Linked DNA regions of Homo sapiens: regions 1, 2, 3, 5 and 6 are each linked to region 4. Evidence: promoter capture Hi-C in 16 types of primary human blood cells and fetal thymus (Javierre and others, 2016). All regions are on one chromosome and are shown on one strand. The core of a region is centred on a gene start or on the middle of the fragment in contact, and the rest is flanking DNA. Distances in the headings are between cores, read along the strand shown. Region 1 holds the start of NR2C2 (nuclear receptor subfamily 2 group C member 2). Region 2 holds the start of EOMES (eomesodermin). Region 3 holds the start of TOP2B (DNA topoisomerase II beta). Region 4 holds the start of SGO1 (shugoshin 1). Region 5 overlaps LOC124909347 (a long non-coding RNA gene). Region 6 holds the start of SLC4A7 (solute carrier family 4 member 7).

Region 1 (3,879 bases), core at 807-3,306, 5.2 Mb before region 4:
AAATTTCCAGACTGCGAATTTTAAATCATTGTAACTACGCTAAAACATATTCTATTAATCAAAACAGGAACCATTACAATCAACACATTTTTGCCAATGAGAAATGTTTGTTTATTCCTGTAGCATAAAAATCCGTGCTTCAGGATTTGACGAACTCTTGGAAAGCATTTTCTGCACCATGCTGAAGTGTTTTCCCTGCAAAAAGTTGTCAAGATGCTAGCAGAAGTGGTAGTCAGTTGGCGAAAGGTCAGGTGAATATGGTGGATGAGGCAAAACTTTGTAGCCCAATTCCTTCAACTTTTGAAGCACTGGTTGTGCGACACGCAGTCAGGTGTTGTCGTGGAGAAGAATTGGGCCCTTTCTGTTGACCAATGCAGGCAGCAGGTATTGCAGTTTTCGGTGCATCTTACCAATTTGCTGAGCATACTTCTCAGATGTAATGGTTTCACCAGGATTCAGAAAACTGTAGTGGATCAGATGGGCAGCAGACCACCGAACAGTGACCATGACCTTTTTTTTGGTGCAAGTTTGGCTTTGGGAACTGCTTTGGAGCTGCCTCTTGGTCCAACCACTGAGCTGGTTGTTGTATAAAATTCACTTTTCATTACATGTCACAATCCGATTGAGAAATGGTTTGTTGTTGCGTAGCATAAAAGAAGACTACACTTCAAAACGATAGTTTTGATTTCCGCTCAGCTCATGAGGCACCCACTTATCAAGCTTTTTCACCTTTCCAATTTGCTTCGAATGCTGAACGACCCTAATGACCGTAGAATAGTCAACGCTGAGTTCTTCTGTAATTTTTCATGTAGTTCAATGATTGCTCTCAATTGGTCGTTGTCAACTTCCCATGGCCCATATCACGTTCCTCATCTTCAAGGCTCTCTTCCTTGCAAAACTTCTTAAGCCACCACTGCACTGTATGTTTGTTAGCAGTTCCTGGGCCAAATGTGTTACTGATGTTTTGAGTTGTCTTCGCTGCTTTATGAACCATTTTGAACTCGAATAAGAAAACTGCTCCAAATTTGCTTTTTATCTAACATCATTAGACAAAAAGCATATTCTAAAATAAACAGCAATAAGTCATTAGCAAAAAAATAAAGTGAGAAATGTGCATTAAAATGATCCACATTTATTTAAGAATGTATTCCAATATCAAACAGCAAATTTCAAAAATGCAAAAACGCAATTGCTTTTGCCTCTCAGGTACATCACTTGACCTTTCTAGTTCTCACCCACTTCACCCCTAAAATCGGAAAATCTTTCTGCAAGAAAAAAATTTGACCACATTCCCTTAAGGCCTCTTCCAATTTCAAGAGCTGTGCTTTACCATGACAAAACGAACCTAGCTCTTTTCCCAATTTTGCAACGTCAGAAAAAGGAGGAAGGGGAAATAGCTGTGTTTAAAACATTTTTTACCAAATAGAAATATTATAAGATTATGGAAAAAAAAATACTAAATGTTGGAGTCATCCTGATAAAAACCCAAATGGATACTGTGTGGGAAAAAAAGTTAACCCATCCATTCTGGAGTCAATATTTATTCTTAATAAGCAAGAAAACTGAAGAAAAAAAATCAGTATAAGATCTACAGCCTGTAGCCTAAACACTTCAGGGCATTTAGGATAAATAAGCGCCTGCACCTTCCCAGGCAAGTCAAAACCACGACATAAAACAGAGAAATATGTAAGGAAAACCTACAGCCCAAGAGTTTAAGAGCAAGACAGGCCAATTTCTTCAAATAAATTTAAGCAATGCTGCTAAAAGCTGCTTTACACATCCCTATTACCATGTACTACTTCCAAATTTCGAGGAGGAGGGGCATGGAATTACACAAGATCTGGATCGTATGTTTACTAAGAAACCAAAAATTATAGGTTCTGGGGCGTTTCAACATTTCACCTGAGATGGCCAGAACGGGCGCATCTTTAGACCTTTAAAACCTAAATTAAAAACTATCAGTACCGAGGAAGGGCCGAAGAGCTCAATACCCACCCAATACAACCCCCACTTCCGACCTACAGACGCTCTGCTGAGCGGCTGGGAGAATCCGTCGCGCCAGTCAGGGCCCGGCTTCTTCCAACAACAGACACTTTGCGAGCCTTCCAGAAGCCTTGGCTAAGCGAGAAGGCAGGGTGGAGGCCGCCACTGCGAGGACGGTCCCCACCCAGCTGCGAGGAGCTCGCGGTTCCCCAGAGGGGCGGGCCTGCGTCCGGGTAACCGTGCGCGACGTCCACGAGTTTTTAGGACGACCAGCCCTTCAGCCTCTAGGCCCCGACGCCTGCGCCATTTAAGCCACATATCCGCCCGCCCGGCCGCGGCCAAGGCCGGCGGCAGCTACGTAGCCGCCGCCGCCCGGGGCCCCACAGCCCACGGGCCGGATGGACCGAGCGCCGGCTGCGGCGTTCCGGTGCGCGCGCGCGCCTCAGCCAATCGCGTTCTCGCCCGCCCCCCGCCGCGGCGGCGAGGCTGGCGCTGGGAAGAGGAAGAAGAACATTCGCCCTCCTCCTACCAGCGCGCGGGCGGCGGCGGCGGCGGCACCGGGGTCACGAACTCTGACCTTTCACTGACAAAAACAATAACAAACCCCCCCTTCTCCGCGACCCCGGCGGCGCCCCCGGGCCCGTCCCCGCCACCCCGCTCCCACCTCGGCGTCTCGTCTCTCGCCCGCTGCCCCGCGAGCCCGCGGCCCCCGGGCTCCCGCCATCCGCCGACACCGGGAGCCCGGGCTCCCCGCGCCCTGCCCTCCGCGCCGGGGGCCGCCCGCCGCAGACACGGGACCCGCTTCGAGGCCGCTTTGGCGCCAAATCCTGAGGTAAAATTGAAAGAGGGTCGGGCGGGCTCGGGCCGGCGGCGGAGGGGGCGGGCCTGGCGCGCGGACATGGAGGCGCCGCGGCGGCGGCTGAACCCGACCCTTTTACCTTTGCCACGGGGTGGCGGCGGCGGCGCCCGGCGCTTTGCATAGTGGGCCGGGCCGCTCCCCTCCCCTCCCCGCCCGCGGCCGGGCGAAGCGAGCGGGTTCCCCCTGACCGGCCCGGCCGGCGCAAGGGTGGGGGTGGAGGGGGAATGGCCGCGGCCCCGCCTTATAGTTGGCCCTCCGCCAGCGCCGCCATTTTGTTCTCGACGGAGATGGCTCCGGCTGGGCGGGCTCCCTTCCTCCTTATCCTCCTCCTCCTCCCGCCTGCAGTCCCTTCTTCCTTCTCTGCCGGGATTTTCACCCCTCCGCTTCTAGTCCGCCTTTGGCGGCCGTCGCAGCCCAACCGCCGTTTTTTCTGAAGGGGAGGGTAAAAGAAAAGGAGGAAGGCGGGTGCGAGGCGCGACCTCGTGAGCGACGGATGGGCTGGCTAATTGGCGCCCAGATAGGAGGGCCGGGGCCTGTGGCACCGCCCCCCTAAGCTTTGCTGATTGGCTGAGGCGGAAGAGGGTGGTCCTTATGGGGCGCGGGAGCCCTGGCGGGGCGGGAGTAGAGGCCGGGGCGAAGAGTGGGGCCGGGTCGGCGGGGGCGGGGCCGGGGGCGGGGCGCGAGGGGCGCGGCCGGGTGGAGAGGCCGGCGCCTGGTCTTGGGTCAGCAGGTGGGCTGCTTCCCTCCGCCTGGAACGCGTCTCGAATGAGTACTGAGGAACAATAGTAATAAAGGTGATGAAGCATTTCGAGTCCACGATGCGCTCTCGTGGGAAGAGGTTTTCGGAACCAGGACACTTTTCAGGGCTCCTGCTCGTTATTTCGCAGCGGCCTTGGCGAATCCCCTAATGAGGCTCAATTTTATCGACTGTAAATGGGGGGCATGCGCATTCTTGCCAGGCCGGACCTCCCTTCTGAGCATTGTTTGTGGGGCTCTACTCAGAAAATGGAGGCAACGCTACTTTGCGAGCTTCAGAG
Region 2 (3,751 bases), core at 12-2,511, 7.5 Mb after region 4:
CGGCATGCAGGCATGCACAAGCATACCGCCGAGCAGGAGGATCTAACGAATCCAGCTTGTGGACATGCCCTAATTTCCATTTCCGCCTCCTCCAGGTCTGTTCAGGTGAGGATGATGGGAGGGAAAAGCGGTGTACAGCCGTAACATTGGCACCCTGCAAGAGCCGCCGGGGCACTGACACAGAGGGACACCGCATTGGAGATGCGGTGTCTACGGAGATTTATTGCGCGCGGTGAAACACTCTAAGCACCGCGCGGAACAACTGGGTTCAGCTCCCTCATCCCGGACCTTCCCCAGGACCACACGTCACCCTTTATCCCCGAACCCAGGGGCCCCTCCACGCTGCGCTCACCTGCCCTGTTTCGTAATGATCATCTCAGTTTGGTGGCGGTGGAATTTGAGCCACAGAGGCCGGTTGCACAGGTAGACGTGGGCACGGAAGCCAGAACCTGGAACCCCCAGGCCCCCCAGTCCTCCGCAAGATCCCGCCGCTGCGGCTCCAGGGTACGGCCCGTAGAGCGGAGCCCCCTGGCTGTACTGATAGGTGCCCGGGCCGCCGCCCCCGCCGCTGCTACCGCCCGCGCCACTGCCCGCACCGGCTCCTGGGCCGAACTGCGCCCTCCCGGGTGGGCACACAGCCGCGGGGAAGCCGCCGGGGGGCAGCATGGAGCCGTAGGGGTAGCGCGCCCCGTTAGGAGCCGGGTACACAGGTCCGTGGGGCGCCCCAGCCGCCGCCTGGTACGGGAAGAGTGAGCAGGGCGCAGCCAGCTCCGACCCCTGAGGACCGGGGGACTGGAGGTAGTACCGCTCGGAGCTCAGGCTGTCCATGGAGTAGCGCGCAGTGGCCGCAGCCGCGGCGGCGGCGGCGGCGGCGGCTGCAGCGGCGGAGGGCAGCTCCTCCTCCCCGCAGGGGGAGCCCTTGCGGCCGTCCGGGGGCCCCGGCTTGGCCACTGCCGCAGCGCTGGCAAATGCGTCCCCGGCGTCGGTGTCACTAAGCATGGCCGCGGGGGCCCCTGCGCTGGCGGCTGCGGGCTCCCCGCTCACCGCCTCGCAGGAGAGACTGCCGGAAAACTTCTTGGACGCTTTGTCTAAGTCCAACTTCTGAGGAGAGGGGGCCGCGCTGGGGAGGTGGCCAGCGCTCCCGCCGCTGCCGCCTCGCGCACTCTCCAGCGGGTAGAAGTGCGCGCCAGGCAGGTTCACTGAGCTCACCAAGAGCTGCTCCCCTAACTGCATGCTTTGCAAAGCGCAGACGGCAGCTGGCTGCTTCCTCTCCTCCGGTGGCCTTATTATAAAGGCAGGATGGGGGAGCCAGCGCCCTCTTCCGAGGGGAAGGTAACTTCCCCTTCCTCCCGCGCCGGGGCTACCCACCTGCCGACTCGCGGGCCGCTACTGCGCGTACTGGCGCGCCCTGAATCCAGCGTCCTTTCCGGAAGGAAAGCGCCGTGAGTTGGAAAGCAGGAGGTGGAAACTAACCCAGAAGCCCTCTCCTTTTCCTTCCTCGTACCTCTTGCTCCTCAGGACCCCCACCCTCCTCCCAGGCTCACACGCTGGAAGAAGGTGACTTAGATCTTTGTCCCCATCCACCCACTAGCCCGCGCCTTTCTGCCCTTTTTCAATTGCCAAAGCATCGGTCAAGTTGACCACTTGGAAACTTATGGGCTGTCACTAGCTGCTTTATATATTTGCGGCCAGGGAGGGGCTTCCCGGCCTCACAGCCCGGAGACCCTCCTATTGGCTGGTGGAGGTGACACTAATTCAATTAGGCATTTACTAATTGGATCAAGTCGCCTGTGACTTTCTTTTCCTTTTTTTTTTTTTTTTTTTTTTTTTTTTTTTGAGACTGCGTCCCGCTGTGATAATCAATCCTGGTGTCTGTAATTTCGCCGGAATTTAGGGGGACAAAGTTTGGGGTCTCCATAGCGGTGTCCACCCTTGGCGCATTAGTCATCTCAGCCCTCCGCTGGAGGAATGAGATGGCTGGAGCAGATTTTAGAGGCCAGAGAGAGAAAGACTCTTCAAGCTGATAGCTTGCAGGGAAGCGCCCGTCCCGGAGGCTGGGGAAACTGGGGCAAGTTGGAGACAGGCCCAAGGAAGTCTCTTTCCTCGTCGGAAGCTGTAACTTCAAAGCACACCTTCCTCTTGTCGAAGGCAAACTCCCTGGCCTTCAACGCACAGAACCACTTTTTGTTTGTTCCCATCCTTTTACCCAGTGGGAAAGGTTTGTAGAGAGGAAACTCGCGCTAAGCTTTTGGGATTCCGGGGACGGCCAGAGCACATTGCCATCCTGGAGGACCTAAGCTCTCAGCTTCTAAATCAGAAGCTTGGACAGGGTACTGGGGACAGGACAAGAGTGAAACTAAGCGAGCTAACACCAACTTCATACTCACGCCAACACAACTGCTTTCGGGGAGACAGTCACTTTTATTCCCCACAATTTAAAATCCTTTCTGCTCAGTTTTCCTGATCCCGGATTCCGTCCCTTCACCACCATCTTCAGTTAGGCCTGACACCAAGAAACAAAGCTTCCCTAACAGCCCCACAGTTAGGATTCCCTGCGCCTCTGCTCTGCGGCAAATACAGAAGGTAGAATAATTAGTGAAATAATCAGTTTGATATTGAATTAAACTCCAGCTGCTTGTTTCTTCGCTGCGTTTCCTCAGATAGATTCAAGAGCGGGGCCGTCATATTTTATCGTTTCATTATTACGGAAGCGGGGGGCACGTTTCGTTGCGGATAAGGAGAAGCCTGAATATTCGCTGTTAATAAGCAATTACAGACGCCGCCAGTAATCGCTCCGGGAGCGCATTTTCCGGCTGAGATGTCGGGACTCTGCTTCCCCAACCGAACGCGATCACACGGGAAACTCTTCGCCCACAACAGATGAGATGGCCAAAGGATTGCTGAGTGCGCACACGCAAGTGTAGAACAGTGCGAAGCTTTCCAACCCAGTTTTCCAACCACAGCAGCACCAACATCGGCATGTCTGGGGTCTCCGAGAACGAGGTCCTTAATGCACTTAGACTCTCCAGGGCATTTATCACGGTTTTTTTTTTCTTTTTTGATGTGTGTGTTCGCGCGCTCGCGCGCTCGCGTGTGTGTGGTGGTGAAACCCAGGAGTGCGCGAAGATTTTCAGGGTCAAGGCACAGCCACAGGGGAGGGGGCAAGTTGAGACTAGTGGGCTGGGGCGGTGGCCTTGTAGGTCCTGGGACAGAGTGGCCAGGAGCAGATCGCCAGAAAGCTGGTACTGAGCGCGTTCTGCCCTGCGCTTCCTGCGTTTTGTGTCATCAGTATAGTTAGTGTTTGGCACGGCTGTTTTGATCACTACATTGTCCATGCCTTCCTCCCCTGCTTTAGTGTTATTTTGACCCAAGGAAGTCTAGAACATTGATTGTTCAAGTAGTATAGCTCTGTGAATACCTCATGACTGTCAACGTGAAGATCCCGTGAGGGGTACGCGAGCTCAAGGAAAGAAAGAGGCCGTGCAGCTTGGGCGGCTTGGACGACGTATCTATCCCTGGGCTAGCGGGTCCTGATTACTATTCGTAGGATCCTCCACATTATCCTTTACCTGAGTTGCAAGATATCTAAGGCAAAAGTAGGGATGAGAAATCTCCCTAATGTGAGACCTAATCTCACGTTATTTGGAGCTAGGGTGGCCAAAGGTACATGACAGTTTTGCGCTTTAACAAAGCAAGAAGCGGGCCTCGGCGTCCCTTCAAAATGCTTTTGACGCAGCCAGGGAAGCGCTTC
Region 3 (4,006 bases), core at 1-2,500, 5.5 Mb after region 4:
CCGCGCCCCATCGCGAAGATCCGGAGCGGACGTCCAGCCGAGCCCGCTGAGGAGGCCGCGCCGCCGGCTGCCCTCAAACTCGAGGCGCGGCGTCCGCGTCGCCCGGGCCTAGCGCGGCGGCTGAGGAGAAAGCAGGGAGCGACCGGCGGCGGCCGAGCGGCGGCGTTGCCTTCTCGCCCGCCCGCGGGCGCCGCTGCAGGCCGGGCTGAAGCCCGGGCGTGCGAGCCGCGAGGGCGGCCGGGGAGCCCGAGGCGCTCGGACGTGGCGAGGACGCAGAGGTGCCTTGTCCTTCTCACACTCCGCGAAGGCCAGCCACTCGAGTCGCCAGAGTAGTCGTCCCGGTCGCCGCCGCTGCTTCAAAGGCAGCCTTAGCCTCGCTGCAGCCCCGATTTCCTCACACACACACACCGAGAGGGACAATAAACAGAGCCGCCGCCGCCGCCGCCACGGTCACCTCCCTCTTGTCCGGCATAACACCGCACACACACATTTGCACACCGGGGAGAGAGGGAGGGCGCGGCGGCCGCCCCCGCTGTCAGTCAGCGCCATGCTGTCCAATCCGGGCCTTGTCGCCACAGCCTCTCGGCCAATCCCAAAATTCCAAGCCCCCTGGAGGGGCGGGACCCGAGGGGGGAAACGTCATTGCGGGTAGCAACCGAAAGGAAGACTTGGGGTTTTTGTTTGTGTGTGTGTCTGTGGGTTTTCCATTTGAAGGGAGAGCAGGGGCTGCTTCAAGGGTCAATTGAGGGCGGCAAAGGGAAAGGGTCGAATTGGCCTCGGGTCGATTGTAATCCTCCAAGCGTGCTGTTTACTCTGAGACCTAACCGGGAATCCGAAGCGTTTGCCTGGGGCCTCTAAGGATGAGGATGGGGGCGGGGTGGGGATGGGGGTGGCAGGAAGAAGCCGGGGGCCGTCCCAAAGGGAAATTATTTTAAAAGAGCGGTTGTAAACCGCAGGCAAGACGTTGTAGACCACTGGTGCAAGGAGGCCCCGTGACCCGGCCTCCCCAAGGGCCTAAGTGGACGCTGCTGTCGAAAAAAATCATCTCAGACCTTCTCCATCTCCTTCTTCCGTCTCCTCCCCTCACCCCAAAAGAGCATATGGTCAGTTTCAAGAAAACTACATATGAAAAGCTTAAATGATAAGGGACACACAGAGAATGTTCTAGGGAAAGAATGCAGGGTGGGTTGAGTGTTCTATTTCTACTCTTTGTTGACCTTTCTTCTCTGAACAATGCAGAGATGTCACTGTCACTTTTCTCATCTGTCCAGAACTGTGCCCCCTGCCTCTAAGAGGGCATGCTTAATTTTTAAAACTGTTTTCAGTGGAATTTTCAAATGCACAGTAAGGAATAATTTCATTCACATTAAAGCTTTCTAAGAATGAAAATTACCAATACAGCAACATCACAGTCTTTGGCAGATGGAAGATGGCTTTACTTCTTCCTGTTTTTCAGTGTAATTCCACTCAAGTATTTATTGGGCGCACACTCTGCCACGCTGTGCCAGGCTCTGCGATGGGTTCAAAGTAAAAACAAGGCCCCTGATTTCAAACCATTTATAACCTGGCTTGTGAGACAGACTAAAAGGGAGCCAACGATCACCAAAATGAGTACTTGAAGGCATGAAGTGCCACCAAAGAGTTGTGATGAAAGCTTTTTATAAAGATGAAAACAGTATTACTGTTTTTTGAAGAGGTGTTTTTGTGAACTTCCAACTGTGCATTTCCTCTCAAGGGAAAACAAAAATGTCTCAGGTCACATCTTTAAACTGCATTCTGAGTCTAGAGGTGGAGAACTCTGAAACATGGAAATAATTTAAACATAGTTTTTTTAATTAGCTCTCTGATGGCCATGTAACTTTGCCATACTAGGGACTTCAGAACAGTGAAGCCTTTCTTTACCTTGAACTTGGGGTGCAAACTTTTCTGAACCTGACCAAGTATCCATAGCCTTGTTATTTAACTTCCCTGAGCCTCAGTTTAGTGCTTGTTAAAATGATCTTGTGTTCTTACTGTGAGTTTGCATCTCCAAGTACACATGTATTTTGTTTGAAAAGGGGTAATTTTAAAGGCAATGAGTTTTTTTTATGAAGATGTACTAGGTAGAAGCTAAGCTATAAAATACATAGCTGTCTCCTTTTTTAAACTTAAGTTGTCAAAGCTCTTTATCTTCCGTTTTTGTTGTTGTTTTTAGAGACAGAGTCTTGCTCTGTCACCCAGGCTGGAGTACAGTGGCATGATCTCGGCTCACTGCACCCTCCACCTCCCAGGTTCAAGCAATTCTCCTGCCTCAGCCTCCCAGGTAGCTGGGATTACAGGCACCGGCCACCATGCCTGGCTAATTTTTTTTACTTTTACTAGAGACGGGGTTTTCACCATGTTGGCCACCCTGGTCTCGAACTCCTGACCTCAAGTGAGCCGCCCATCTTGGCCTCCCAAAATGCTGGGATTACAGGCATGAGCCACCGCACCCAGCCTAGGTTCAGATTTTGAAATGAATAAAACAATATATTCAAAACTCAAATAGATTAATAAAAATAATGTTCTTTTCACTTGCCTCATATGTGAGGCATTGAGTCCTTTTGTCTTCTCAGTATGAAAAAGCCTTTTAATAAGTGTTACTAGTTTTAAGAAAATACTGACTTACCCAGAAGAATTGCAAATAAGAATTGCTGAATATACATGAAAATCAACATTTTTAAAGCAGAGATTTGTGATGAGTGGAAGACGGAATCTAGATTAAAAGTATCTCAGCTTCTAAAGAATTGTCCTTTTTAACTGTGCAGCAGACTTAGCATATCTTTATGATAAAATTGATTGTACGCAACTTGAGCATAGCTTTCTCTTCTGGGGTAATGTGAAGTAATTTTCAATTAGGGGTGGATCACCTGAGGTCAGGAGTTCAAGACCAGCCTGACGAACATCATGAAACCCCTTCTCTACTAAAAATACAAAAATTAGCCAGGCGTGGTGACCTGTGCCTATAATTCCAGCTACTGGGGAGGCAGACATAGGAGAATCACTTGAACCTGGGAGGCAGAGGTTGCAGTGAGCCGAGATCGCACCACTGCACTCTAGCCTTAGCGACAGAGCGAGACTCCATCTCAAAAAAAAAAAAAAAAAAGCTTCTATATCAGGTTTGTCTAGTTTTAGATACTACTTTGTATGTATATATTACATATAATGACTTAATTTCTACCCCACAGCAAGCACTGACCAAAAGGAAAAACTAGAAATTAGTCATTTCTATAAACTGTATAAAGGTCTTTATTTAATCAAGATTTCTGAGTAGCTTCCATAGGAGCTTATCCTAACTACTTCAGAATTTCTATTTTTAGATCTTATATTTCCTTATTGTAGCAATGAAAAAAAAATTAAATGCCTACTGTGTTAGGTACTCAGGACCTGGGAATTTAAAAAGGTGATGAAGACGCATTTTCTGCCTTAAGTTCACCCTTGAATTATAGTTTCAAGCTAATCATTTAATTGAAAAGCAATTTTATATTTATTCATTTGCTGTTTAATAAACAATTTACCTCGCTTTGGGAGACCAAGGCAGGCAGATCACCTGAGGTCAGGAGTTCAAGACTAGCCTTGCCAAGATGGCAAAACCGCATCTCTACTAAAAATACAAAAATTAGCTGGGCATGTGCCTGTAATCCCAGCTACTCGGGAGGCTGAGGCAGGAGAATCGCTTGAACCCGGAAGGCGGAGGTTGCAGTGCACCAAGACTGCACCACTGCACTCCAACCCGGGCAACAGAGCAAGACTCCATCTCAAAAATATATATATACATAAAAAATAAACAATTTACCTGATGAGCCACACCTATCATCACACTTTATACACAGTAGGTAATTTAATCAGTAAGTAAATTATCCAAGAAAATAGCAACTCAAAACCATACTTCTAGGTATCTGCCAAAGTTTCAATAGTTTCCATTTAAATGTTGTGTATCATTCCAACACTGAGATTCAGTTGGGAGGAGGAGGACAAATCTTTAACC
Region 4 (4,015 bases), core at 11-2,510:
CCAATAACAATCTATGCACAGAATTTTCACTACAAAGGATATCTTCATCTCCTCTACGATAGTCAAATATTTTCCTAAACCTTACACTTAATCTTGAGTATTTCCTCCAGGCCTTATTTTCCTCTATGCAGTGTCTGGAATCTTAAATATAGGTATTGTAGATACCACTTAAGAACTTTCTTTCTACCAAGGTATATACAATATGTACTGGGAGGTTCCTAGCAGAGATAGGGTAGCTATTTTTAAAAGCACGAACGGTAAAGGGGTTGTTTTACACAATTAAGTTAGAATTGGAGATGTTTGAGAGTCATACAGATTAAGTAACGGATCTAGTTTAGTTAAGGTATTTTAAAGGCAAAGCCTTACCTAAAAAGCTTTCGTTATTACTTTTAATCAAGTTAAAAATCACAAAAGAAACTTGCCATATCAAAAGTTTTATATCCTGTCTAAATAAGGCGATGGTTATTAGCAGGGGGTGTGGTAGACAGAAGGGATGAAAGCAAAGACAGACCACAGCGCGAGATGACGGTCTCAATCTGTACAGTACTCGTGTAAGCGCTCTGGATTTAAAGAACCTAGCATATTTGATCTCCGTCCATAATTCTCCAATTAGTCCTGCTGCGAAGACAGCCAGGTAGGATACTAGTCAGTGCCGGCCTCTCCAGGGTAAGTGAGGAAGAGAATGGCCTGGACAAGGAGGACGTCAACGGTATCACGCTGCACAAAGAACTGCTGTCAATTTTCTTGTGTCCTTACGTTGAGCCAGGCTTTTAGCTATTGTAAAAGCTTTATTTGCACATCACTTAATCTACACAATTTTGCAAAGTAGGAAATTAGGGTCTCCATGGAAGCCGGAACATCTGAAAGCGCAGATCGAGTGGCTGAACGGCGAAAAGCGCGGCGAGTGGGACTCCACGGCCCGAGCTTTCGGCCACCGAATTTAGAATGATACTGAAAACCGAAGGGAAGTCAAACAGGGATCACTACGCCCTTGTTTCGCACCTTAAAACCTACTTCTTCCTCTTTCAGGGACTCCAGGAAGGCCGGGGGGAGGTGGGGCTGGCGGAAGTGGACGCGGCGACCCTCCTGCCGCAGGCGCGTCCAGAACGATACCTTGGCCACTACTTCTGCAACAGCTATCTTCCTCCTCCTCACATTTCAAGGCTCTTCGAAGCTCTCCAGCCACGGCTAGCCCCGCGCACTGGGCCCTCCAGGACCGTACCACCGTCCGCCGTCGCCTGGAACTACCGCCGCCACATTCGAAATTTTCCGCCTCGCTCCTCCATTGGTTGGCTGGGAGGCGGTCACGTGGCGCAGGATGCACCCAACACCACCGTCGCAGGCAGAGTCCCGCCCCGCCAGGCGACGTCACGTGACGCACATTCGCTCAAGTCCACATCCGGGCATCCACCTGGCCCTGGGGCGGAGCCTGCGGTCGGGTCTCGGCGACCCGCCGGGACTTTCTAATCAGAGTCGTGGGGATTTTACGGGTGGAGTTACTCCGAAACCTTTAAGGCCGAGTGTGATAGGTAGTTCAAAGCTTCCTGTTTCTTCAGTCTGACAGCTTCAAATGTCCCGGGTTGTGCTCAAAGCCTCCCTCTTGTGAGAAGAATCTCTTTGGTTGCCTGTTAAAGCGGTCAGCCAGCTTGCAACACGGAAGCAGCTTTTAGAGGAATTAAAACCAAAACAAGGAGCAAATTCTGGATTAAAAAGGTATTAGGGAAACTGCAGATACCTGAAAATTCTAGCTCCATGTTTCTCTTTGCCGGCTATCTCTGGCTCTTTAACTCTTCTCGAGAAATGGCACCAACATCCATCCAGTTACCGACTAGAAGCCTGAGAAATCGTCCTTAATGATTATTTATCCTCTCTTAACCTTTGCCCGTCCAGTCGGTCACACGATCTTCTCAACTCTGCTTTCCAAGTTTCTCTCATGCCCATCTTTTTCCCCCCAATCCAGCTTCCAGCCTAATCTCATTCCCTAAATTGCACTAGTACCCACTCTGACCGCAGACTCCACTCCCTATATTCTTCATAGATTAATATTTTTACAAAACAAGTATCAAATAGGAAACTTTACAATGGCTCCCTATTGCATTTAAGGTGAATTTCAAACTCCTTTAAGATATTTTGTCCTTAAAGAGCCCCATGATTCCTGGTTCCATCACTTGTACATTTTCTTTAATTTTCTTAAAATTCTTGCCACTTTTGCCAATGCTGTTCTGTCAAGAACACTCTTTCCCTTGGCCGAACTTACTCCTATGTATACTGAAGTTTCACTGTACAGATGAATTCTTCCAGAAAGACTTATCTACCCCTAAAGCCCCTGAGTGTCTGCTTTACACTTTCTTAGTGCCCTGCATTTTCCCCTTGGTATTCCTTGTGACACTGACTTGTCGTTCATTGCCTGTTTCTTGAAGTTGAATAAGGGCAGGAACTACATCTGCTTTGTTCATAGCTAAATTGTCAGCATCTCGTTGCAATTTGAAGTAAGTAGTAAATATTCACTGGGACAATAAAGGAACAAATAAATGAAAACGAAACAAATGTTTTGAATCTAGGCATTCTTTATGAAGGTGTGTTGTTGTTTTTTAAAGGTAGCTAACACATGCTTGCTCTAGTCTGGGTACCCATCCTGGCTTGAGTGGAAGAGGCTGAAACACCCTTCTCCAGCCAACAACTCCCTCGTTTTCCAAGTTAACCAGACCAACTCCATTAACCCTCAGTTTACTGCCACTGGGCAATGTGGCTTATATGTGTAGAAGCATCAAGAAGGAATGGGCAGAGAGGTTTTTTGTTGTTTGAGGTCAGAAAATTATGAAGTGGAACATGAGAGCAGAGAATAGGGCCAGCTTCATGAGCAGGCAACCGGTGCTTAGAAGGGCTGTACATTTGGTTTAATGCTCTGCTGTTGCCGTCTTGAAATGCTTAGGAGTTTATATTTGAACTTATGTTTTGTAAGTGATGTCTGATGAGACAATGGAGCAATCTTGTGAGCAGATGTGATTCATGCAATGTGTGTGTCTGTCACTGTTTCTTGCCCCATGTCATACAATGTTCAGGATGCGCACTAAATGGCCTCCATGAACCACTTATTTTGTAGTTAGGGACCTAAGTACAAAGTGCTCAGAAGGGCTCACCCTTGCCCTCTTGAAATTATTATTATTTTCTTTGAGACGGAGTTTTGCTGTGTCTCCCAGGTTGGAGTGCAGTGACATCATCTTAGCTCACTGCAACCTCTGCCTCCCAGGTTCAAGCAGTTCTCCTGCCTCAGCCTCCCAGGTAGCTGGGATTACAGGGACCCACCACTACGCCCCCTAATTTTTGTATTTTTTTGTAGAGACAGAGTTTTGCCATGTTGCCTAGGCTGGTCTCAAACTCCTGAGCTCAAGTGATCTGTCTGCCTCAGCCTTCCAAACTGGGATTACAGGCTAAGCCATCATGCCCAACCACGTTACTATATTTTCTAACCACTTACACTAAAAGTGATGGCATGAAAGGAAAAGGAAAGATAAGACATTCCACAATTCCTTTTCTTTTCAGTCTTTCTCTACTTATCGGTAAGCTGAAGGTTTTTGTCTTGGATTTTGAACAAGGAGCATCATATTTTCATTTCACATTGACCCACACAGATTATATAGCTGGCCCTGACCAAAGGCTTTGAGGTTCTGACTTTTTGAGGGGTGTCTTCCCCGTTCCCAATTTAAAAATGGGTCAGACTTCAAATCAGGTGTTTATTATAGAGCCCTAAAGAATAGAAATGGCTGAATTTAGGGGCAGTGAGGGAAAATACCACCAGAGTCCTAGCATGAGTAACTTTTGTACATCAAAATGTTCTACTGCCGCTGATTTTAGGGAACTGAATTACTGTTGGAATCAATAGCTCTTTTAAAATTTTGTGGAAACTACAACTCTTCCCAGGAAGAATGCACATATTCCTTTTTGAACAAAAATATGCATATTTCAAAGAGTACTAAATGGTGGACTGGAGTTTGAACCCAGGAAGCCTGGCTCC
Region 5 (4,074 bases), core at 1,575-4,074, 5.5 Mb before region 4:
GATACCTGATCTATATTGTTTAAAACGATTGAGGTCATCAGAAACAAGGGAAGTCTGAGAATTTGTTACTGACCAGAGGAGACTAAGGAGATGTGACAGTTAAATTCAATGTGGTGTCCCGTATGGGACCTTGGTCTGGAGAACAACATTGGGGAAAACTGGTGACATCCAGTAAAGGGTGGAGTTTAATGAACAGCATGTATCAAGATTGGTTTCTTAGTTGTGATGAATGGACGATGAAGAAAAGTAAGACGTTAGCAACACAGGAAACGGTGTGGGGTGCGTGGGAACTCTGCACTATCTTTGCAACTTTTCTGTATGTATAAAGGTGTTTGAAATTTTTGTAAAGTTTATTCAAAGAAAAAAATACATAACATACTTACCAGAGTCCCTGGCACACAGTGGCTGCTATCTGAAGGCTCACAGCTAGTGGACATAAAGCATGTTCTGTCTGGTCTCTTAGGCATACACCTGTCCTTAAAACAGAGGTACATGGTCGCCTCCCTTGCTGTGTGTCCATGGGAAGTATGCAGATAGGGAACTGTTCTGGCTAAAATGGTCTCTTCTGAATCTGGCAGCCACAGGGATCCCATGAAGCCCTAAGTTGGGCCACAGACCTCTTCTGCTCAGTGTCCTCCACGGCTCCCACTTCACACAGAGTAAACGCCAAGTCCCTATAAGTGGCCTGTGAAGCACCAGGAGATGTGGGCGCCCCACTTCCATGTTCTCTGGCCTCCATCCTATCCTGACTCCTTCAGCCATGTGAGCCTGCTGGCCTGGGTGCTGCTGACATCTGGCCATACTCCACCCAGATAGCTCTGCTCCCCAGAGCCCTGCAAGACAAGAAGGTCTTCTCTGTGTGCCTCCCCAAATGTGAGTGCTCTCCTTTTCACTCTTTAGTTCCTGCCTGCGCCCCGCCGTGGTTCCAACCAAAGTTTGTTTCCTCCTTCCTGCTGTGGGGGGTGAGGGTTGCTGCACCCCACTGACTGGCCTCACTGGCAGGAAAGGGCAGCCAGCTCCCCAGCAGCTAGGCCTGGACAGGGCGTGCACACAGAGCAGTTCTGTTCTGTCCCATCTCCACTTCAGGCAGCCCCTCTGGCCCCCCACCACTGTCATTCCTTCATGACCCCTCTGGCAGTCCCTTTCTCAGCCAGTTTATAAACCCCGGCTCTCTGGGACGGGTCTCAGGTCTCCTCTCCCATTAGTACTGAGGGTCTCTGCTGGCCTTTTTCAAGACTGACACGGAGGGCCTGTTCTGGGTTGAACTGCACCCCGCCCTAAAAGAAGATCTGTTGAAGTCCTATCCCTCAGTACCTCAGAATGTGGCCTTATTTGGAAATAGGGTTGTTACAGATGCAATCAGTTAAGATGAGGTCACATTGGAGTACAGTGGGCCCCTAACCTCATATAACCGGTGTCCTTGTAAGAAGACGGCCATGTGAAGACAGGCACAGGGAGAAGGCCACGTGAAGACAGGGCTGGAGGGACACATCTAGAAGCCAAGGAAAGCCAAGGACTGCCACTCACTATCAGGGGCTGGGAGGAGGAAAGGAAGGATTCCCCCTACAGGTTTCAGAGGGAACCTGGCCTTGCGATGCCTTGATTTAGGGCTTCCAGTCTCTGGAACTGTGAGACAATAAATTTCTATTGTTTCAAGCCATCTAGTCTGTGACATTTTGTTATGGTGGCCCTAGGAAACTAACGCAGGGCCAACAAGAAGGGTCGGGGACCTGGGCTGCTTCTAGTTGTGATGTTTCTCTGCTTTCTCTACTTCTTACTGTGGCATTTCTCTGCTTTTCCCTACTTCTTGCTGTGGCTTTTCTCTGCTTTTTCCTACTTCTTGGGTTCAGCTGGGTCACCTTCAAGACTCCCCACCATGACATTGCCAGATCTCTGATTTGAACTCTGTTCCTCATCTTTGGAGCCCCTCACTTGGCTTTAGGAGTTTAGAGAAATGTCCCTCCCGTCCCTCTCTATGAGGCCAACATCTCATAATGTGGACAGCTCCCTCTACCACTTCCCTGCTGCCTCTCTAAATCCAGTGGGGTCGGGTGGATTTGAGCACTATAAAGCATCTTCTCCTGTTCATAGTAAGCCATTGGGTTGAAGCTGGGGGGCAGCACTTGGGCCCCCATTAAGAGTTTGAGGCTGTAGTTTTTAGCAACTCTCATTTTTTTTTTTAGCCATGGCCTCAGGCACCAATTCCCCAGGCTGCAGAAAAAGCCCCATAGGCCATCCTGTTACTCCAGATTTGCAAGCTCGGCTGGGCTCTCCGTGATACCAAATGATGCTTGTCCAGTTCTAGCTTGCATGGTCAGGACTCCTGGCACTCACCTCCTTAGTCATCTCTGCTTGCAATGACCTAAAGACAGGTCCCTCCTGCAGAACTATTCTGGGGTAGCTCCCTAAAATGTCCCCTTTCCCCAACAGAGTTAATCAATGAATGAATGCAAAGCTAACGTAGTCTCAGATCCAGCGAGGGAGGAAGGACAGTGTGGGGATCCCAGAGCTAGGCTGCCTCAACTCAAATCCTGGGACCAAGACTGCCTGTGTGACCATGGACAAGTTATTTACCTTCTCTGGGTCTCAGTTTTCTTCATCTACAAAATGCGAATAATAATAGCATCTGCCCCTGAGGTTGTCGCAGGGATTCAATGAGATAATGCCAATGACGGATGTCATGACTGACGCTAATGAAGCTTAGCTTCTTTGTCATGCAGGGCACGAGTCCAGGTATCTTTATGCCTCATCCTGTGCTGTGCTTAGAAGCTAATTTTCCTAGGTCCAGCCTAATCTTTTTTCACACATTGGACTCAGCTAATTCATTCACTGCTGAGTAATTTGTTAGAGCCAGCGGTGTTGAAGATAGAACAAAGGTTAAGATGCTTCGGGCTGGACACATGGGGGAGAGACACATTTTTAGTTTGAGGAGGCAGAAAACCATTTTCACAAGCTTAACGGAGCCCGGTACTAAATTAAACCTCTTGACTTAATCACTGATTAAAACATTACAATAGCTGCACAGGCTACAGTCGGTGAGTCCAGCCTGTAATCATGTCCTTCTGAGGCTTCATGTTGGAAAATGACGCAGATCATTCAAAATAAGAGCATGGCTTGGTGGCTGTGCTTGGGGGAAATAATTGTCATCTGCTTCAGAAGATTTCCTCTCTCCCCCTTTATTTAAAGCACCTAAAAGACTTCATAGATAATTAAAATCTAGTAAGATATAAGAAGGAAGAAGATAATCAATCTCCCACCCAGTCCCACTCTCTTGGGACTCAACAGGGGTAAGGACAAACCGGAGGTCAAAACACTGCAAAATATGCAGTGTCATAACACAGACTGTTGGTACGCACACGCCTTCTGCTGTGAGAAAACTGGCACTGAGCAGAACTATCCTGCAAGTGATGCAGGCACAGCATTTTCAGTTTGCAAACCATTCTTACACTCTTTATCTCAAACATCCTGTGTGCCCAACTGGGTAAAAGAACCGAGGCTCAGAGGGGAGATGGGAGCTGCCAAACTAACTAAAGGAACGTAGCTGGAACGGAGTGCTAGCGGCCTCGGAGGAAATCCTGTGCTCTTTTCACCAGACTAGGATGTCCCTGCCCTCCCTTTCTTCCAGAACAAACCCAGGTCCATGTATTTAGAGGGTGACTGAGTAAAGAACATACTGGGCTGGGCTTCAACTTTTGTACTTGGTAGAGGAAGGCAATTCCAGATAGACCCAGATGCTTGGAACACATAAACAAAGAGGAGAGAGTTTGAGGAAATGGGGGGATATGTGAAAAATCATTTGTATGACAGGGGAGCATTCTGGTCAATGCAAGATTAAGTTATTTTGTGCTTTTGCAGCCTGCAAAATGAGTGAGCCTGGGAATAAAGGGGACTCACTAGCTTGCTCCTGGTCATTTAAGTGGCTTGGGAGGTGGTTACAATCAGCTGGATGCCACTCTAGGGAGAATTTCTGACAAGGGTGAGGGTGCAAACCTGCATCGCTAAGATGGAGATGACAACCAAGGACCCTGACAGGCATCGTGCAGAGGAAGCTAAATTCTCATGGTCTTCAGGGAC
Region 6 (3,761 bases), core at 1,262-3,761, 7.3 Mb after region 4:
TATTCCATTACCATCACTGTGAATTATCTTCCAATAACCACTGCTAAATGACTTCACTGTCTGGTGACTGAGTTTTCTTCTATGTTAGAGAACTTATATGAACGTACTGAACTAATGAATGACTACTTTCCATAACCTTAACTATAATCCTAAAAGTTAAAAGGGAAAGCCGGCAGGCAGTTTTAAAGACAACTCTTGAATAAAAACATAGGAGAAGTAATTTTCCTCTTAGTTGTGAAAGACCGGACAATTTTCCCTGCAACCTTCCCGCCTTTGCTGGTTGCATAGTAAAAATTAGAAGTAGGAAAATTTAGAATACTTCCATCTCCTTTGAGTCACGAACTTGGAAAGGAGAAAGAGACAACTGCGGGGACGCATGTGCTCTAAAGAAAGCAGGAAGTCCGCTTCTTGAGCATGGGCCGTTCACCCATCATCACAAATGGGAACACCGGCCTTAAGTCCATCCCCATTCTCTTCTAACCCTGAAATCAAAGCCAGTCTCAGTAGGAAACGCGATCTTGCTAGCTGAGTTAGAGAAGGAGCACCAGACAGCTCAGGACACCCTCCTCCTTCTACTTGGCCTGCGGCAGGAGGATACTCCCCGGGTCCCAGCCAGTGGAGAAGGCGGACCCGGCAGGCAACAGCGAAAGAGCCTTGGCCGGGAAGGAGCGCGGCCAGTCCACGCGGCCGGAGAACTCACCGAACAAAGCGCACCGCGGAGCGGGAGGGGACACTCGGAAAGAGGGGGAAAGATTCAACCAGCTCTTCACCACTGCCTGGGGCTAGAGACAGGTGGAGCCGCCGTCCTCCTTAGAAGGAGAAGAAAGATAGGTTTTCGAGGGCTAATCTGAAACTCCTGCGCCAAGGCAACCGGAACCGGGACCCCGCCTGGGGAGCGCGCTAAGAAACAGGGGAGGCGAGCGCTGAGGGAAGGGATGGATGGTCGGGGTCACAGGCGGCCTCTGCGGGGATGTCGGGGTCCCGCCTGAGCCGCGCAGAGGATGCCCGCGGCGCGCCGCCGGCCGCCCCGACTCGGGCCTCCCGAGCGCAGCCGCTGGCCCCCTCCCACCCGCGCCCCAGGCCGCCACACAAAGGGGATGGCGAGGCGCGCCGGCCGCCGGGAGGTGGAGGGGCGACGGGCCTGGGACGAGGTGGCCGAGCCGCGACGCCCGCCGCGCCCCCCGCCTTTGTCTGCCTCGCCCCGCGCCCTCCCCCTGCGGAGGAGCCCCACCGCCGCGGCGCCCTCACCCTGCTCGTTACCCGGGTGAGTAGCGGTCTCATCTGCTCGCCGGCCCCATCAGCCTCCATGGCCGGCCGGCCAGCCCGTGACGGCCGCTACGGTACTGCCCCGCGCGGTCTGCCTGCTTCTGCCGCTGCCCCTGCCGCCGCCGCCGAGCCCCCGGCGCGCGAGGACAAACGTGGGTGCGTCCGTGCGCGAGGTGTGCGCGCGTGGGGAGAGCCGGGCGCCGGGCGCGGGAGACGCGGGGCGTGCGTGTGCGCGCTGCGACTGCTGGGCTGGCTTTAGTAGGAGAGCGAGGCCGCGGCGTGGAACCTGAAGCTAGAACTGAGCGAACCGGCGGACCGAGCGGGAAGGAGGAGAGCCGCGTAGGAGGAGGGGTTCGGGGGCGGAGCCGCAAACCGTGACGAGCCCGGCGCCGGGGCCAGGCAAGACACGCCCCCCCGCCCCGCCTCCTCGGGTCACGCCCCCTGCCAGTCTGGCACCGCCAGCCTCCTCAGCGCGCCCGCGGGCCGCGCCGCTAGGCCACCGGGAGATGGGGCGGGAGGGAGGCGGGACGGACATTTGTCCCAGCCAATCGGCGGCTGGCGGACTTCCGCTCGCCTCCCCCGTGCCACCTCCTCAGGACGCACCGCCCCTCTTTGTATAAGCTTAATTGACCGAAGCTGAGCGTCTAACTAGTTTTTCAAGTCGGAAGCTCCCCTGACGTTCTCAATGGGGTGGGGGGTCACCACCTCCCTTGGCTCCTAACTACATTCTTTAGAGGCTGCAGGGAAGGAGGACGCCACCTCTGTCAAGGACGCCCAGGATAACCCTCCGAAGCAACTAACGAGTCTTCACGACTCCTGGAAGTTTCTTTTCTGTCAATCCAGTAGGCACGAACCCCAACTCAGGGACCGTGAAAGATGGGGTACACTTGACCAGGTGTCCTCCTGTGCTTGCTCGCCCACTGAGCACCACGACAGCTGCCACTTTTTTTTTTTTTTTTTTTTTTTTTGAGACAGAGTCTTGCACCAGCCCAGGTTGGAGTGCAATGGCATGATCTCGGCTCACTGCAACCTCCGCTGCCTGGGTTCAAGCTATTCTCCTGCCTCAGCCTCCTGAGTAGCTGGGACTACAGACGCGCGCCACCACGCCCGGCAACTTTTTGTATTTTTAGTAGAGACGGGGTTTCACCATGTTGGTTAGGCTGGTCTCGAACTCCTGAGCTAAGGTGATCCACCAGCCTCAGCCTCCCAAAGTGCTGGGATTACAGGCATGAGCCACCACACCCGGCCAGCTGCCACATTATTGAGTCCACCCTGTAGGCCGTCTCTCAAATATCCCTTCTGTAACGGGATGATTGTAATACCTGCCATGCAGGCTCATTGAAGGATTAAGGGGATTTATATTCATAAAAGTGCCTGGCACATAGCATGCTGATAATTTTCATTATTGTTAACAGGTTTCTCTTGAGTGTTTCATAAAGATGAGAAATTTGGCCGGGCGCGGTGGCTTACGCCTGTAATTACAGCAGTTTGGGAGGCCGAGGCGGGCGGATCACCTGAGATCAGGAGTTCGAGACCAGCCTGACCAACATGACGAAACCCCGTGTCTACTAAAAATACAAAAATTAGCCAGGCATGGTGGCAGGCACCTGTAATCCCAGCTACTCAGGAGGCTGAGGCAGGAGAATCGCTTGAACCCAGGAGGCAGAGGTTGCAGTGAGCTGAGATCACGCCACTGCACTCCAGCCTGGGTGACAGAGCTAGACCCTGTCTCAAAAAAATAAAAAATAAAATAAAAAAAGATAAGGAGAGGTTTAGTTGGGAAGAACTGAAGCCATGCAATGGAAGGATATATAAATACATCAGCGGATCCAGAGCTCACATCCTATTCATCTCCAACTGGGTATTAGTAAAGCTTTTTGTCAGCAATAGGTAGCTAGGTATGCTGGATGACTCATTCCTTCTTTGGGCCCTAGTCCCCTTTTGTCCTAAATTTCCCAGAGAGTTACTTCCAGTCCAGCACACATTGTTCACTTACTTGTACAAGAGCAGATGTGCCTCTATTAATAGCTACTATGTAAAGAGGCCTACAATTAGAGACTGTGACATTTGGCAAACATATTTCATTTCTAATCCTCTCAATACTGCAAAATATCTGCCGTCATCTTTTTCTTCGGCAAGGCAACTGAGCTGCAGACGCAGAGACGCAGATCTTTGTGAAGACCCTCACGGGCAAGACCATCACTCTTGACGTCAAGCCAAGTGACACCATTGAGAATGTCAAAGCCAAAATTCAAGACAAGGAGGTATCCCACCTGACCAGCAGCATCTGATACTTGCTGGCAAACAGCTGGAGGATGGCCGAACTCTCTCAGACTGCAACATCTGGAAAGAGTCCACCCTGCACCTGGTGCTGCGCCTGTAAGGTGGCATTATTGAGCCTTCCCTCTGCCAGCTCTCCCAGAAATACAACTGTGACAAGATGATCTGCCGCAAGTGCTATGCTTGCCTGCACCCCCGTGCTGTCAACTGCTGCA

What was found. Contacts are between HindIII fragments. The CHiCAGO score rates a contact against its expected background, and 5 or more counts as called.
Region 1: a contact is called between a fragment that was not itself captured here and the fragment with the promoter of SGO1 in region 4, in 2 of 17 cell types (fetal thymus and naive CD4 T cells). The highest score is 10.4, in fetal thymus.
Region 2: a contact is called between the fragment with the promoter of EOMES here and the fragment with the promoter of SGO1 in region 4, in 1 of 17 cell types (naive CD4 T cells). The highest score is 5.7, in naive CD4 T cells.
Region 3: a contact is called between a fragment that was not itself captured here and the fragment with the promoter of SGO1 in region 4, in 4 of 17 cell types (non-activated CD4 T cells, naive CD4 T cells, activated CD4 T cells and 1 more). The highest score is 13.9, in non-activated CD4 T cells.
Region 5: a contact is called between a fragment that was not itself captured here and the fragment with the promoter of SGO1 in region 4, in 1 of 17 cell types (total CD4 T cells). The highest score is 6.5, in total CD4 T cells.
Region 6: a fragment that was not itself captured here is called in contact with the fragment with the promoter of SGO1 in region 4 in 3 of 17 cell types (fetal thymus, non-activated CD4 T cells and total CD4 T cells); the score reaches 12.2 in fetal thymus.

Annotation. Positions count from the first base shown.
Region 1 is chr3:14,945,092-14,948,970 of GRCh38, forward strand. NR2C2 (nuclear receptor subfamily 2 group C member 2) reads left to right here and starts at 2,492. Exons shown (of 14, transcript NM_001291694.2): 1 at 2,492-2,815. It overlaps FGD5-AS1 (FGD5 antisense RNA 1), which reads right to left and starts at 3,350. Exons shown (of 2, transcript NR_046251.1): 1 at 2,922-3,350; 2 at 1-1,063. RefSeq lists enhancers at 1,643-2,332, 3,021-3,708, 3,155-3,354, 3,709-3,879 and silencers at 2,115-2,544, 2,595-2,664, 2,685-3,104, 3,495-3,554. The HindIII fragment of the contact is 2,676 bases long and covers 719-3,394 here.
Region 2 is chr3:27,721,062-27,724,812 of GRCh38, forward strand. It overlaps EOMES (eomesodermin), which reads right to left and starts at 1,262. Exons shown (of 6, transcript NM_001278182.2): 1 at 353-1,262. The coding sequence starts at 1,233. RefSeq lists a silencer at 688-897 and an enhancer at 3,443-3,751. The HindIII fragment of the contact is 2,734 bases long and covers 1-2,243 here.
Region 3 is chr3:25,664,422-25,668,427 of GRCh38, forward strand. It overlaps TOP2B (DNA topoisomerase II beta), which reads right to left and starts at 486. Exons shown (of 36, transcript NM_001330700.2): 1 at 1-486. It overlaps MIR4442 (microRNA 4442), which reads right to left and starts at 518; the gene lies at 452-518. RefSeq lists a silencer at 1-55 and an enhancer at 223-786. The HindIII fragment of the contact is 239 bases long and covers 1,132-1,370 here.
Region 4 is chr3:20,184,946-20,188,960 of GRCh38, forward strand. SGO1 (shugoshin 1) reads right to left here and starts at 1,261. Exons shown (of 8, transcript NM_001199251.3): 1 at 1,003-1,261. SGO1-AS1 (SGO1 antisense RNA 1) reads left to right here. Exons shown (of 4, transcript NR_132785.1): 4 at 1,030-1,170. RefSeq lists enhancers at 979-1,658, 1,679-1,738. The HindIII fragment of the contact is 754 bases long and covers 785-1,538 here.
Region 5 is chr3:14,645,373-14,649,446 of GRCh38, forward strand. LOC124909347 (a long non-coding RNA gene) reads right to left here. Exons shown (of 2, transcript XR_007095826.1): 2 at 1-4,074. Among named protein-coding and RNA genes, the nearest start is that of CCDC174, 4.4 kb to the right of the region's middle. The HindIII fragment of the contact is 254 bases long and covers 2,698-2,951 here.
Region 6 is chr3:27,482,819-27,486,579 of GRCh38, forward strand. It overlaps SLC4A7 (solute carrier family 4 member 7), which reads right to left and starts at 1,566. Exons shown (of 26, transcript NM_001321103.2): 1 at 1,249-1,566. The coding sequence starts at 1,308. It also overlaps the pseudogene UBA52P4. RefSeq lists enhancers at 305-364, 525-734, 765-824, 840-1,616, 2,095-2,224 and silencers at 995-1,064, 1,095-1,454, 1,485-1,964. The HindIII fragment of the contact is 1,252 bases long and covers 1,886-3,137 here.